Regions from separate parts of the Homo sapiens genome. Here region 2 is linked to region 1. The links are contacts of gene promoters, found by promoter capture Hi-C in human tissues and cell types (Jung and others, 2019). All regions are on one chromosome and are shown on one strand. The core of a region is centred on a gene start or on the middle of the fragment in contact, and the rest is flanking DNA. Distances in the headings are between cores, read along the strand shown. Region 1 holds the start of BCL7A (BAF chromatin remodeling complex subunit BCL7A). Region 2 overlaps KDM2B (lysine demethylase 2B).

Region 1 (7,858 bases), core at 3,664-6,163:
ACTCAAGGGGACCCTGCTGACTCCCTCCAGGAAAGCTCTACTCCCTGTCCTTGTACTCACTCCTCATGGCTAGTCCCTGTCACCTCAAGAGGCCTGGCCCATGGCTGGCCTCACCCTAGCTAGGCCCAGGTCTGCCTGACCTGCCATGTGCCCAGTAGGAATGTCTCCATGATGAAACCTCTGGAGGAGCTGAGGTGAGGGAGGCCTCAGGCCCAAACCTCTACCTCTCCTGGGACAGACGGGAGCTCTTCAGGCACAGACCTTTCTCAGTCCTCACAGCAAGTCATTGAGGGAACCCTCAGACCAGGTGCTAAGGGGTCCTGGGCCTAAGCCTACTTTTTTTGTTTGTTTTTTGAGACAAGGTCTCACCCTGTCACCCAGGCTAGAGTACAGTGGCACAATCGTAGCTCACTGCAGCCTCAACCTCCTGGGCTCAAGTGATCCTCCAGGCTTAGCCTCCTGAGTAGCTGGGATTACAGACGAGGGTCACCATGCCTGTCTAATTTTTTTCTTTTTTTTTTTTTTTTTTTGAGACGGAGTCTCGCTCTGTCGCCCAGGCTGGAGTACAGTGGTGCAATCTTGGCTCACTGCAAGCTCTGCCTCGTGGGTTCATGCCATTCTCCTGCCTCATCCTCCCAAGTAGGTGGGACTATAGGCGCCTGCCACCACTCCCGGCTAATTTTTTGTATTTTTAGTAGAGATGGGGTTTCACTGTTAGCCAGGATGGTCTCGATCTCCTGACCTCGTGATCCTCCCTCCTCGGCCTCCTAAAGTGCTGGGATTACAGGTGTGAGCCAACGTGCCCGGCCTTTTCTCTTTTCTTTCTTCTTTTTTTTTTTTTTTTTTTTTTGAGATGGAGTCTTGCTCTGTTGCTCAGGCTGGAGTGCAGTGGCGCGATCTCGGCTTACTGCAACCTGCGCCTCCCAGGTTCAAGCAATTTTCCTGCCTCAGCCTTAAGAGTAGCTGGGATTACAGGCGTGTACCACCACATCCAGCTAATTTTTTGTATTTTTAGTAGAGACAGGGTTTCACCATGTTGGCCAGGCTGGTTTCCAACTCCTGACTTCAGGTGACCTGCCTGCCTCGGCCTCCCAAAGTGCTGGGATTACAGGCATGAGCCACTGCGTCCAGACTAATTTTTCTTTTTTCTTCTTCTTCTTTTTTTTTTTTGAGATGGAGTCTCGCTCTGTTGCCCAGGCTGGAGTGCGGTGGCGCAATCTCCGCTCACTGCAAGCTCCACCTCCTGGGTTCCCGCCATTCTCCTGCCTCAGCCTCCCAAGTAGCTGGGACTACAGGCGCCCGCCACCACGCCTGGCTAATTTTTTTGTATTTTTTTAGTAGAGACGGGGTTTCACCATGTTTGCCAGGATGGTCTTGATCTCCTGACCTCGTGATCCGCCTGCCCGGCCTCCCAGAGTGCTGAAATTACAGGCGTGAGCCACCGCGCCCGGCTCTTTTTTTTCTTTTTCTTTTTTTTTGGTTTGAGACCCAGGCTGGTCTCAAACTCCTGGGCTCAAGCAATCCTCCTGTCTCAGCCTCCCAAAGCTCTGGGATTACAGGCGTGAGCCACCGCAGCGGGCCTCCAAGCTTACGCTGCAGCCCAAGCTTTCGTCTCCTACCATCGCCCTGGGGTCTTCTCTCCTCCACCAGCACAGGGCCCCCAAACCCTGGCCCAGTTTCCCAAAAAGAGGCCCACCATTTTGTTTTCCCTTTAGCCATCTTCTGGTCACCTCACCTCCACTGGCCTGCCTTGCTGAAACACCAGAAAAAGAGAACAGGAGGCAGCCTGCCCCAAATGAGAGGGAGGCCACAGCTTTTTCCGGGGGTGGGGGAAGCATCAGGGGACAGTGGGTGGGTCGGGGGGGTAATTTTAGGGGTCACTAGGGCTGAGGAGAAACCCACCCAAGGCTCATGGGGCCAAATGATCTGCCAAACACTTCGGCTTCCCTCTGGGTAAAATACAGGGTGCCCTGTTAAATTTGCATTTCAGATAAATTAGATAATGTTTTAGTATAAGTGTGTCCCAAATATTGCATGAGACATACTCAAAAACATTTATTTTTAAAAAAATCTTTCATTGTTTATCTGAAATTCAAATTTAACTGGGTGTGCTGTATTTTTATCTGGTTAAACCTGGCAACCCCACCCCCCCACCAGTGGTGAAATGCATGGTTGGTGACCACACAATTAATAAACAACCCACAGTCTCATGGGCTGAGTCTAAGACCCAATCCGAAGGCGCGGGGAAGGTGAGATATGGCTTCTCAGGGGCCAGAGAAACCTGGGCAATAAGTCCAAGGCTTTCGCTTAGAAGGGGCCAAAAAAAAAAAAAAACAAAAAACCTCAAAGCCAAGTTTCTACAAAGTCCACCTTACAACACAGACAACACTGAGCAACAGCTCCTCCTGCGCCCAGGGCGCGGTGCTCTCGGAGGCATGACCTCAATCGTCCTCAATAACCCGAGGGGACCTGGAAGCCAAGCACAAAACCCCGGGTCACCATGGTTAGAGAAGTGACAATGATATGCCCAAGGTCGCGGCAACGAAGTGAACTGGAAGCTGGACCATGAGATCCCAAAGCCTGAGGTCTTCAGAGGACACGATGTGTTGTTTCCCCAAACCCAGGGAGGCGCAGAGGTACAGCCCCTCAAGCTCCAACTACAGGCCTGGTCCCCGCGGGGTCAGCGGGCTGGAAGGCCTCCAGGCCGGCCGCCCCGGGGCCCGCGGGGTGGGAAGCCCCATCTCTCCATCTGCCCTCCCTGCAGAGCAGCTGGCCGCTCTGCGGGAGCAGCTGTCAGGGTGCAGGAGCCTCTGTCCAGCCGGGAACCTGGAGTAGGAGGCCCCACCACGCCTCCTCGAGCAGAGAAAGGCGGCTTGCCGGCTGTTTCCCAACCTCCAGGCCGGCGACAGAAGGGACCCAGGCACAGACACCAGTTCTTTCTTTGCACAGGGGCTGAGGCAAGGAGGGGAGCAACTCCGGGCTTCCCGCGGGGAATCCCACAGTAGAGGGGGCTGCGGGTTGTTTTCCAGCGTGTGTGTGTTGGCCTGCAGCTGTTTCTGCCATTTTTAAATGGCTCCAGTCGGGCACCGGGCACCCTGTGTACCAGGGGAGCTCCCGAGACACCGACGACTTGGATCTCAACTTTGGAAAGCCTCCCCTTCTCACGGTTCTGAAAATTCTTTGTCCCACTGGAGCCAAACCCAGCCCACGGCCGGGCATCCGGCCATCGCAGCCAGCCCTTTCCATAGGAGGCCGGGGAGCACGTGGACTTTATTGATTTTCCTCTTGCCTTTTTTGTTGGGTTTGACTCAGAAAGGACAGCTAACTTGTGACACCGCCACACCGGAGGCTCGCCCCCAGTGGCTTTTAGAGACCGAGGCGCTACTCGAGAAACGACACCCCCAAACGTAAACATCCCCTGCCACAGGGCCTGCCCAGCTTCCAGGCTCGAAATAAAGGGTCGAGACGAGCCCGCGGGCGCTGACACTCAGAGCCAGCGTTGCGGCGGCTCCTCTCCCTCCGGGACCCCAGTGAAGGCGTGGGAAAAAAATAATAAAGTTGAAATCAGGCAGCGGGGAGTTTTCAACAACTCTGACCCAACCTGGCGATCTGCTTGCGCCTCGGGCCTGGCCCAGGGGCCGATTCCGAGCAGACCCCGACGAGGCCGCGGAAAGGTTCGATCCCCTTAATGTCGACCGGGCCACGCCGGGCGGACGCTAATGTGATCCCGAAAACCACGCGCGGCCGCCACCAAGTCCCCCTCTCCCCGGTGCAGAGAACAAAAACAACAGCTCCCTCCGCAAAACAAACACGAGCTCCCGGTGTGGAGAGGCAGCCGCGGCCCAGGACGAACGGCTTCTGGCCAAAAACATCGGCTGGCCCGAGCCCCCCGCCCGGGGCGCCGCGCAGAGCGGGGTGGGACGTGGGCGCCCCGCGCCCCTGGCCGCTGGCTCCCAGCGCTCGCCCCCATCTTTCCTGGTCGCCGAGAGCCCTCGCTCCAGGCAGCCCAAAGCGCTAAATTTAAACGGCTCGCGCTCTGCAAACTCCGCAGACTCGAGGGCGCCGGGCCCGGGAGGCGGGAGCGGGCGGCCGGGCGGGCCGGGGCTGGCGGAGGGCGGCGGGGCGCGGGCCGGGGTGCGCGGGGAGGAGACGGCGGCGGCGGCCCGCTCGGAGCCTGCACAATGGAGCTCGCGCTCTCCCCGCCGCCGCCGGCATCGCGGCCCCGGCGCGCGGGAAGCCGCTTTCATGTGACTTGCACAAAACGAAATGGCTTCTGGGGCCGGCCCCGAGCCCCCCTCCCGGGAGCCGAGCGCCGCGGCGGGGGCCGCCCCGCCGCTCCAACCGCCTGGCCCCGGCGCCCGCCGCCTCCGGGCCGCCGCGCCAGGTGGGCTACAGGCGCGAGCGCACCTGGGCAGCGGCCGCGGCCCCAGCCTGGCGCAGGTGACCCGGCTCGCGCGCCGCCCGCCCGTCCGCCCGCCCTCGCCAAGTCCCGGGGCCCGCGGCGGGGCTGGGCCGGGGCAGGCGGCCGGGGCGCTGCGCCCCGCGGCTCTCTGGAGCCGCGCTCGGGCTCGGGGCGGCCGGGGAGGCGGCTGGCGGCGGGCGCCTCCGCTTACCATTTGCGCACTTTCTCGATCGCCGCCATGACCCTCTTGATATCATCTTTGGCCCGGCTCCTCGTCTCGGCTCGAACCGACCTGCCCGACATGGTTCCGGCGGGGAGACGGAGGCTGGGGAGCGCGCCCGCCGGGTCCTGCTCGCGCTCCGCGGCGGCCACACTCGCGCCCGCCCGCCGCTCACTCACTCGCGCACAGACACTCGCACTCTCACACGCACACACTCACACACACACACACACACACACACACATACACACACACACAAAGCCCGGGGCCGCCGCGCGCCTGGCCCAGTGCGCAAGCGCCGGGCGGCAGCTGCACAGAGCAGGGGGAGCCGCGCCGCCGCCGCCGCCGGCAGTGCGGCCTCCGGGCGCCGCGGCCACCGGGCAGCGCCCCCGGGCCTCCTGCGCCCCCAGAGGGGACGCCCCGGACGCCCTCCTGGGGAGGTGGCGAAGGGCGCACGGCGACCCCCGGCTCTGGGCGCGCGGTGGGGGCGGGCGTGCGGACACGCGCGCTGACCCTTCCTCGGAGGCTGCAGGTGCCGAGGGGTCCATGGGAGACAGCCGGTCTGCGGGGCGCGGGGGGGTCGCGTTCCCCGGGAGCCAGCCCAGCTGCCCCTGCCCAGCCCCCAGAGCGCGGCGGCGGGTGCAGTCGTGCAAGTTTCTTGCGGGTCTCTTGACTTCTCCGAGTTGAAGGCACCGGTTCGGGACGCGAGGTGCTCTTGGAAAGAGTTGGGCATCGCGCATCTCTGCTGGCCCGCGGCCCTGTTCAAATGCGAGCTAGGACGTCGCCTGCCCCAGGCTTTGTCCTTTTGGAAAACTAGGGTTGTAGGAAGGTGCCTGGTGCCAGGCAGACCACCAGAGACTCTCGACCTTGAGTACTAAAGAGTTTTCTGCTCAGCAAAAGCTCAATGATGATCAGCATCGTAACAGGGACTCTTCCTCCCGCCCCCAGAAGTTCTCTTGTCATAAACAAGGCGAGGGGGTCTTCGCTGAGCTTCACCAGAGGACCACGATTTCACCTTAAGCCATTCCTGACTTCAGTACCAGACTGAGACCAGGCGCTGCTACTGCCCAAATGACCCCTGGTCCCATCTACAAGGAGCACTTTTGAGGCCTCAGAACAGAGCCCCGGGGAGAAATCTGCGATGATCAGGGTAACCTGGGTGCCGCATCTTGCTGTTCAGCTGCAGCGGAACCGGCCGGACCAGAGCTAATGCGCGCCCAGAATGAAGAGGGAGACCGAGAGTGGCCCAAATGTCAGCGCCCCGGGCCTGGAGATGACAGCCCGACAGCAGCCATTTCACAGCTGGGGAAACTGAGTCCTGGGAAAGTTTAAGGTTGCAGCCTTAAGTTGTTACTCATTCTAGACGTTTCCCCTGAGGGTTTGGTCTTTGGGGAACACGCTACTGTGGAAATGGAGAGACCGCAGGCCTTTTCCTAGGCATTTGTTTTTACTATTCTGAAACGCAGTCTCCTGACGTGAAAAATGAAGAAAAGAACAAATACTGGCCGGGCGCGGTGGCTCATGCCTGTAATACCAGCACTTTGGGAGGCCGAGGCGGGTGGATCACTTGAGGTTAAGAGTTCGATACCAGCCTGGCCAACATGGTGGGTGAAACCCCGTCTCTACTAAAAATACAAAAATTAGCCGGGCGCGGTGGTGGGCTCCTGTAATCGCAGCTACTCGGGAGTCTGAGGCAGGAGACTCGCTTGAACCTGGGAGACGGAGGTTGCAGTGAGCAGAGATCCAGCCACTGCACTCCAGCCTGGGAGACAGAGTGAGACCCTGTCTCAGAAAAAAAAAAAAGGCCGGGCGCGGTGGTTCATGCCTGTAATCCCAGCACTTTGGAGGCCGAAGTGGGCAGATCACGAGGTCAGGAGTTCGAGACCAGCCTGGCCAACATGGAGAAACCCTGTCTCTACTAAAAATACAAAAATTAGCTGGGCGTGGTGGTGCAGGCCTGTAATCTGAGCTACGCGGGAGGCTGAGGCAGGAAAATGCTTGAACCTGGGAGGCAGAGGTGCAATGATCATGCCATTGCACTCCAGCCTGGGCAACAGAGCAAAACTGAATCTCAAAAAAACAAAACAAAACAAAATAAAACAAAACAAAACAAAAAAAGAAAGAGAGAAAGAAAAAGAAAAAAAAGAGAAAGAGAAAGAAGGACTTCAGAGAATCGTTCCGAGAATTTTCTGGGAAAATATGCAACAGCAGGTCATAAAACAGATCTCACAGAGATATGTGAGATCAATAGGTATGTGCTTTGGGCCACATGAAACTTTAAAAAAATGTATCTTAAAATTTAAAATAGGAAAATATTATGTCAGAATTCAAATAGTGACTGAGGAACAGATAAATGTGTCTATCCACACAATGGAATATTATTCAGCCATAAAAGGGAATGAATACATGCTACAACATGGGTGAACCTTGAAACACGCTAAGTGAAAGAAGCCAGTCACAAAAGGATAAATATGCGTAAGTCCATTTGCGGGAGATATCTACAACTAGGCGAATCCATAAAGACAGATATCAGATTGGTGGTTGCCAGAGGCAAGGGGGAGGGAGAGCAGGAGTGACTGCTAACGGATGTGGGGTTTCCTTTCGGAGTGATAGGAAAGTTCTGGAATGAGATAGTGGTGATGGTTGCAGAACAATGTGAATGTACTTAATGACGCTGAATTGTACACTTTTAAATGGTTACAATGGTCAATTTTATGTGTATTTGATCATAATAAAAAGAAATCTAGGCTGGGCGCGGTGGCTCACATCTGTGATTCCAGCACTTTGGGAGGCCGAGGTGGGTGGACTGCTAGAGGCCAGGAGTTTGAGACCAGCCTGGGCAACATGGTGAAACCCCATCTCTACAAAAAATTCAAAAAATAGCCAGGTGTGGTTGTGCGCATCTGCAGCCCCAGCTGCTCAGGAGGCTGAGGTGGGGAAGATGGCTTGAGCCCAGAACGTAGAGGCTGCAGTGAGCCAAGATCATGCCACTGCATGAAGCAAAGAAAGAGAGAGAGAGAGAGAGAGAGAGAAAAGAAAGAACGAAAGAAAGAAAGAAGAAAAGAGAGAGGGATGAGGAGAAGGAGAGAGGGAGGGAAGGAAGAAGGAAGAAAAAGAGGGAAGGAGGGAGGGAGGAAGGAAGGAAGGAAAAAAAAAAATACCCAGCTTCTCTAGAACCAGCAGATCTGCAAACTGGACCCTCAGTGCCACATGGCACCCATCGGCTAGAGCAGAGA
Region 2 (7,858 bases), core at 1,512-4,011, 480 kb after region 1:
GGGATCGTAGAACAGTTCTGTAGAATTTAATTAAGATGACATTGTTTCTAGAAATCATGGAGCTTTCATGCTGGAGGCCCTGGAGGGTAGAGATGGCTGTCAGCACACCTGAGGGAAGGACTGCAGTAGGGAAGAGAGAAGTGACACAGACACACGACTGCTTCCCCCACCCGGCTCCAGGACTTTTGGTGATGGGCTTAGGAATTTTTAAAAATTTTTTAATTTTTATTTTTTTAGAGAGGGTCTCACTCTGTTGCCCAGGCTGGAGTGCAATGGCACGATCTCGGCTCACTGCAACCTCCGCCTCCCAGGTTCAAACGATTCTCCTGCCTCAGCCTCCCAAGTAGCTGGGATTACAGGCACCCACCACCACACCCAGCTAATTTTTGTATTTTTAGTAGAGACAGGGTTTCACCATGTTGGCCAGGCCGGTCTCGAACTCCTGACCTCAGGTGATCTGCCCGCCTTGGCCTCCCAAAGTACTGGGATTACAGGCGTGAGCCACCACACCTGGCTGATTTTTTCTTTTTTTGGGGGGGGACGGAGACTCACTGTGTTGTCCAGGCTGGAGTGCGGTGGTATGATCTCAGCTCACTGCAACCTCCGCCTCCCGGGATCAAGCGATTCTCCTGCCTCAGCCTCCCGAGCAGCTGGGACTACAGGTGTGCACCAACACACCCGGCTAATGTTTATATTTTTAGTAGAGACGGGGTTTCACCATGTTGGCCAAGCTGGTCTTGAGCTCCTGACCTCAGGTGATCACCTGCCTTGGCTTCCCAAAGTGCAGGGATTACAGGTGTGAGCCACCATGCCCAGCCAGGAATCTTTTTGTTTATTTGTTTTTTATTTTTTGGAGACAGAGTCTTGCTTTGTTGCCCAGGCTGCAGTGTAGTGCACAGTCCTAGCTTACTGCAGCCTTAAACTCCCAGGACTCCTCCTACCTCAGCTTCCTGAGTGATCCTCCTACATCAGCCTCCTGAGTAGCTAGGACTATAGGTGTGTACCTGGCTTTTTTTTTTTTTTTTTTTTTTTGAGGCAGGGTCTCTCTCTGTTGCCCAGGCTGGAGTGCAGTGGCGCAATTGTGGGTCGTTGCAACTTCCTCCTCCCAGGCTCAAGCAATCCTCCCTTTCTCAGCCTCCCGAGCAGCTGGGACCATAGGCACACACCACCACGCCTGGCTAATTTTGTTAGATATGGGGTTTCGCCATGTTGGCCCAGGCTGGTCTTGACCTCCTGGACTCAAGTGGTCCACCGACCTTGGCCTCCCAAAGTGCTGGGATTACAGGTGGGGTGTGCCACTACTCCTGGCCTAATTTTGTTTTTTGTTTTTTAGACGGAGTCTCACTCTGTCGCCAGGCTGGAATGCAGTGGCATGATCTCGACTCACTGCAACCTCTGACTCCCTGGTTAAGTGATTCCCTCAGCCTCCTGAGTAGCTGGGATTACAGGCACACGCCACCATGCCCAGCTAATTTTTGTATTTTTAGTAGAGATGGGGTTTCACCATGTTGGCCAGGATGGTTTCGATCTCCTGACCTCGTGATCTGCCCACCTCGACCTCCCAAAGTGCTGGGATTACAGGCATGAGCCACCAGGCCCGGCTGATCTTTTTAAAAATTAAAAAATTTTTTTTTAAATTTGTAGAGATGGCAGCAGGGGGATGTCTCTGTGTTACCCAGGCTGGTCTTGAACTCCTGGCCTCAAGTGATCCAGATAGTTACAAATATGGGTGTGAGCCACCATGCCCAGCTGGCTTAGGACTCAGTGTTTTTCTTTTCTTTTTTCTTTTTTGAGAAAGAGTTTCACTCTGTCGCCCAGGCTGGAGCGCAGTGGTGAGATCTCAGCTTACTGTAACCTCCACCTCTGGGGTTCAAGCGATTCTCCTGCATCAGCCTCCCAAGTAGCTGGGATTACAGGCTCCCGCCATTACACCCAGCTAATTTTTGTATTTTTAGTAGAGACAGGGGTTTCGCCATGTTGGCCAAGTTGGTCTTGAACTCCTGACCTCAAGTGATCTACCCGCCTCAGCCTCCCAACGTGCTGGGATTACAGGCATGACCCATGACCCACTGCGCCGGGCCTCAGTGATTTTTATTTTAGTTGAGATACTTAAAAACAGGTAGGAGTAATAGGAGTGGAGTGGGGGTAGTTGCACCTTCACAGAGACAAAAGATTTGCAAGGAGTATGTTAATTTATTAGTTATCTTATGTGCAAGACATGATTCTATGTAGTAGTGGGTGGACTTCAGTGCATAAAGCCAAGTCCCCATTCTCGTGGAGCATACATTGTGGTGGGAAAAAAGAGACAGGAAAGCCAATGAGGGAATAATTTAGGAGGTTTAATGGTCATGGAGAAACATAAAGCAGGAAAAAGGATTGGGCTGAATGAATACTGAAGACAAGGTGCATCTCTGCCAATGGCCTTTTTCTTCATCTGTACCCTGCAGGAATGCATTGGATGTATAGAACCATTTGTCTTAGAAAATTCCTTATAACCAAATAGATAGTGACTGTTATTTGGGAGTATTCCTGCATTAGTTGCTTATTGCTGTATAATTATTCTAAAACTTCAGAGCTTAAGAAAAATTTTAGCAGCTTAAAACATCAAACATTATCTCACAGTTTCTGTGATTCAGGAATCTGGGAACAACTGAGCTGGGTGGTTCTGGCTCAGGGTCTCTTATAAGCTTGTGTTAGGCCTTGGCCATGTGTGGTGGCTTACGCCTGTAATCACAGCACTTTGGGAGGCCAAGGGGGGTGGAGTGCTTGAGCCCAGGAGTTCAAGAGCAGCCTGGCCAACATAGTGAGAAATGTTGCAGTGGGGGGAATGATGTAGGCCTGGGCTGCAGTCAGCTGAAGCCTCTATGGGCTGGAAGATCCGCTTCCAAGATGGTGCATCCCCGTGGCTGTTGGCAGGAGGCCTCAGTTCCTTGCCACATATAGCTCTCCATAGGTCTGCTTGAGTGTCCTCATGATATGGCAGTGGGTTCCCCATAGTGAATGGTTCAAGAAACACCAAGGAGGAAGCCACAGTGCCATTTATGACCTAATTTTGAAAGTCACATATTGTTTGCTCCTGCCATATTCTGTTAATTAAAAGTAAATCACTAAGTCCAGCTCATACTCAAGGGGAGGAGAATTTAGCTCTGCCTCTCGAAGGGAGGTGTATCAAAGCATTTGTAGACATGTTTCAAAGCCTCCACAGTTGCCTAGTTCTATGACATGGGCTCACCTTTTTCACTTAGCACCGCTGGGTTCTGTGATAGATTCCAGAAGTGGATTAGTGAGTCTCCTCCCCTCCTTTGCTCCTGTAGAATACAGGTTTGTAGAGATCAAGTTTCTTGGTGGAATGAAGATATGCTGTGATCTGACAAGCAGTAAAGGAGCTCAAAAGCCCAGCAAAATGGGGACCCCACATAAAGCATAGGTTTGGCCCTCAGATAATTGATAGTTGAGTGGGTTCTCTTCCCTGTGTACTTTCTGGGGGTGGCAGGAGGAACTGGGGAAATTGTTGGGGGAGTGAGAACCTGACACACAGAGAAGAGGAAACAGAGGCACTGGGCTGGGCACATTTTGGGGCACATTTTGTGTACATTTTGGGGCTTCTGCTACTCTCTCACTCCAGCAAGGCTTTCTTTTTTTTTCTCTTTTATCTATAGGATTCTGCTTGATAAATAAAATTTCCCTCCCTCTCTCCCTCCCTCCCTCCCTCCTTCCCTCCGTCCTTCCTTTTTTTTTTTTTTTTTTTTTTGAGACAGGGGCTGTCTCTGTTGCCAAGGCTTCAGTGCAGTGGCACAATCACAGTTCATTGCAGCCTCAGAGTCCTGGGCCCAAGGCATCCTCCTCCCTCCTTCTGGAGTAGCTGGCACTACAGGTGTATGCCACTATCCCCTGGCTTATTTATTTATTTATTTTGAGTGGAGTTTCACTCTTGTTGCCCAGGCTGGAGTGCAATGGTGCGAGCTCTGCTCACCCCAACCTCCGCCTCCTGGGTTCAAGCGATTCTCCTGCCTCAGCCTCCTGAGTAGCTGGGATTACAGGCATGTGCCACCACGGCTGGCTAATTTTGTATTTTTAGTAGAGACAGGGTTTCTCCATGTTGGTCAGGCTGGTCTCGAACTCCCAACCTCAGGTGATCCACCCGCCTCGGCCTCCCAAAGTGTTGGGATTACAAACTCAAGCCACTGCACCTGGCCCATCCTCTTGAAGGGACTGTTTCTTCTTCTACAATGTAGGGGTCCTGCCATCTCTGCCCTGCCTTCTTCCCATGCTATGGGGGAGACAGAGCCCACAGTGGATGTGGAAGAGTGTTCACAGGTGGGCAAGATATTTGTCCATGTGGCTGCATTGGAATTCTGGCATCCTCTACTTTTTTTTTTTTTTTTTTTTTTTGAGACAGAGTCTCGCTCTGCTGCCCAGGCTGGAGTGCCGGTGATGCAATCTCGGCTCACTGCAACCTCTGCCTCCCGGGTTCCAGTGATTCTCCTGCCTCAGCCTCCCGATTTAGCTGGAACTACAGGCATGCAACACCACACCCGGCTAATTTTTTTGCATTTTTTCAGTAGAGACAGAGTTTCACCATGTTGGCCAGGCTGGTCTTGAACTCCTGACCTCAGGTGATCCGCCTGCCTCAGCCTCCCAAAATGCTGGGATTATAGGTGTGAGCCACTGCACCTGGCCCTCATCCTCTACTTTTCAGTCAACCCTCCTTCACATCCGTATGGGGCTTTTATGTCTACATTGCACATTCACCCTTAACCTCAAGACCTACTCTCTCATCAGCTGTGTTTGCTGGCATTATAAATGATCATCCCTGTGTAATATGTCAGATAGGGAAACCGGCCCCGCACAGGGAGGATGCTGTGGGCCATGCACTAGACCCCAGGCCTTTAGATTCCTGGCTTTTTCTCTCAACTGCTCTACCTTTAAAAGAGGAACAAAGAAAGCCAGCATTCCTGTGTGTATGGACCAACGCACCACCATAGACACTTGGCATGCATATCTCAATAAGGGAGGCATGGGTTACTATCCCCATTTTATAGACAAGGAAACTGAGGTTCATAGTGGTTCAATGCAGGTAACAAGTGAGTACAAGGTAGTAGGGTTAGGCGAGCTGCGGTGGCTCATGTCTGTGATCTCAGCACTTTAGGAGGTCCAGGTGGGTGGATTGCTTGAGGCCAGGAGTTCGAGAGCAGCCTAGCCAATACAGCAAAACCCCATCTGTACTAAAAATACAAAAATCAGCCGGGTGTAGTGGTGTGCCCCTGGAGTCCCAGCTACTTGGGAAGCTGAGGCATGAGAATCTCTTAAACTCGGGAGTTGGAGGTTGCAGTGCGCTGAGATCATGCCACTCCACTCCAGCTTGGGCAAAAGAGCAAGACTCTGTCTTAAAAAACAAACAGACAAACAAACAAACAAACACATTAGGGGCTGATGAGGCTTGTGGATAACTCAGAAATTCCTTTAAAAGTTAAAAAAAAAAACTGCTGGCCAAACCAAGTGCTTCTGGGGCCTGGTGTGACCCACGAAGACACCAGTTAGAGGCCCCTGATTAGTGGGACTCTGAGTTCCAGAAAGGGGGAAGATCAGTCCAATGTCACAGAGCCCAGTGAAGTAATTATAGGGTTGCTGCAGGGTGCTACGGTTACACAGATGAATCGGATATAGTCCCTGCCTTCAAGGAGCTGAGGCATTTGTGACTAAAAATACAATTCTCTTATGTGGATAGCCTGGTCCGGCCATCAGGACTGTCTCCTCTCCTAGCTCATTTAATGCCACATCCTTTTCTTTCTTTTTTTTTTTTTTTTTTTTTTTTTTTTTGGGAGAGGGTCTCCTATGTCACCCGGGCTGGAGTGCAGTGGCGCAGTCGTGATTCACCCTTGACCTCGTGAGGTGAAGCAGTCCTCCCACCCCAGCCTCCCTGGTAGCTGGGACTACAGGCGCGCACCATTATGTTGGTTGTCTTAGGGGTGAAACGAGATCACGCATGTAAACAGCTATTATTATTATTAGCACTGGTAATTAGAACCTGTTAATTAATATTGCTCAGTAGTCCTGGTGGCTGGGGTTTGGAGAAAGAATGGAGAGGCTGGAATCTGCCCCTGCAGTGGCTATGGGACCATTTCCAGCCCCCTTGTGGTTTGGGAGAAGGGTGTGGGACAGGGTGGGAGGAGGGCGGGGACTCTGGTGACCTTGAGTGTGGGACTTCTGATTTGAGCGGGATCACCACCTGCAGCTGGAGGTTAGTGGTGAGGTTTGGCTGTAACCTCTGGACTCCTCCTGGAGTTGAGGTGTGTCAGGTAGACCAATGGGGGCAAAGCTGAGGGACTGGGAGACAGGCTGCCTGGGTGAGCACTGCCTCTGATAGGCTGGTGACCCGAACTGGAGGCTGGACCCGAACTCGAGGCTTGAGTCACAAGCCTCCCTGTGCTTATCTGAAAACAGGAAGAATCCTGGGAATGACTTTTTAGGGTTGTTGTGAAGTTTGGATTAAGTAATCCAGGTACCACAGTTTGGATGATGCGGTGAATATGTATTTATCTCAAAGGAGTCTCTCAACCATGCTATGATGTAGGGTACACAGTCACTAAGCCACCAGGCAGGGGAAGGGGTGGTAAAAGAACATCTTAGAATGCAGAATTGAACTTCAGTGCCGAGCAGTGAGGATGCTGTTCAGAGAGGGGAAGTGAGTTGTTTAAGGTCACACAGCGCGTGGGCCTTGGGGTCAGAGCGGCTTCCCCCTTCTCAGCGCTACCATACTCCGGATCCCACTCTCCCCGCGGCCCCTAGCTCGGGTCCTTTCTATGGCTGTATCTGGAGGGGCACATCTTAGGAAGGTGGCTTTGCTGGCCGTCACCTGCTATGGAACACGGGGCTCAGGGGGGTGGGGAGAGCCAGCCCTGCACCCCCACCGGCCGGGCGAGGGGCGTCTCCTGGCGCCGGCCCGCGTTGCTTCCCGGTCGCCCCGCGGCCTCCCTCCGCCTCCCTGGCGGCCCCGCGCCGCGGGTGTTCAGTTTCAGCGCGGGCATGAGCGCAGGCAGCGCCCGGCTCCCCGCGGAAGGAAGGCAGCGAGCGGGGGCCCCGCGTCCTCGGCCGGGGCCTGGCAGCGCCGTGGAGGGGGCTCGGCTCGCGTTGCCGCCGGGAGTGGGGCCGGGCGCGCGTCGAGCCTCCGCAGCCGAAGGGGACGCCCGGGAGCCGAAGGGGACGCACGGGAGCCGCCGCCGCCGCCGCCGAGGGTAACCGCGGGCCGCGCTGCCCGGGCGCCCCCTCCTTTGTGGCGCTGCGCGGGGCGGGTGTGGGTGGCCTCCCGCCCGCGGGCTACAGGGCCGGCGTCGCGGAGCCGCTCTTTGTGTCTCCCGGGGTCGGGTGCGAGTGTGCGGCGCGCTCTTGGCACCTCCCGCGCCCCTCGGGTGTCAGCGTTCCGGCGCCCCTCCCGGCCCTTTCCCCACGGGGACGCCTCCCGAGCCACCGGGGGAGTTACGCCAAGTTGGAGGGAAAAAGGTGGGGCGGGGCCGCCCCGCCTCCGCAGCCCCCAGGCAGCGCCCCAAAGTTGGTGCTGCAGGTGCAGCAACCCTCCTGCCGCCCTCCTCCCCGGCTGGCCCGGCCGTGGCAGGCGGGAACCCCCAAGGGCTCGGTTCGGGGGCTCCCGATGATCTGCCGCCAACTTGGAGGGTGCCTTGCTGCACAGAAGCCACCTGAGCTGGGGGCGGCCGGGGGCGGCCGAGGCCCAGGCGGAAGCCGGGCTAGCCGGCTGGCCGTGGGGAGAGCTTAGCGGCCGTGGCACCGAGCCGGGGTGCCCATGTGACTGCGGTGTGCTTGGGAAGAGGAAGCTGCAGAGGTCAGTGCAAAGGCGTCACGC

What was found. Contacts are between HindIII fragments. The study calls those that stand out against the background at their distance.
Region 2: a fragment that was not itself captured here is called in contact with the fragment with the promoter of BCL7A in region 1 in 1 of the 25 tissues and cell types used here (aorta).

Annotation. Positions count from the first base shown.
Region 1 is chr12:122,018,939-122,026,796 of GRCh38, reverse strand. It overlaps BCL7A (BAF chromatin remodeling complex subunit BCL7A), which reads right to left and starts at 4,913. Exons shown (of 6, transcript NM_001024808.3): 1 at 4,614-4,913. The coding sequence starts at 4,705. RefSeq lists silencers at 2,625-2,714, 4,195-4,354, 4,505-4,824, 4,955-5,034 and an enhancer at 3,545-4,360. The HindIII fragment of the contact is 14,578 bases long and covers 1-7,858 here.
Region 2 is chr12:121,537,289-121,545,146 of GRCh38, reverse strand. All of the region lies in intron 6 of KDM2B (lysine demethylase 2B), which reads left to right. Among named protein-coding and RNA genes, the nearest start is that of KDM2B-DT, 39 kb to the left of the region's middle. RefSeq lists silencers at 6,819-6,968, 7,079-7,858. The HindIII fragment of the contact is 8,624 bases long and covers 1-7,073 here.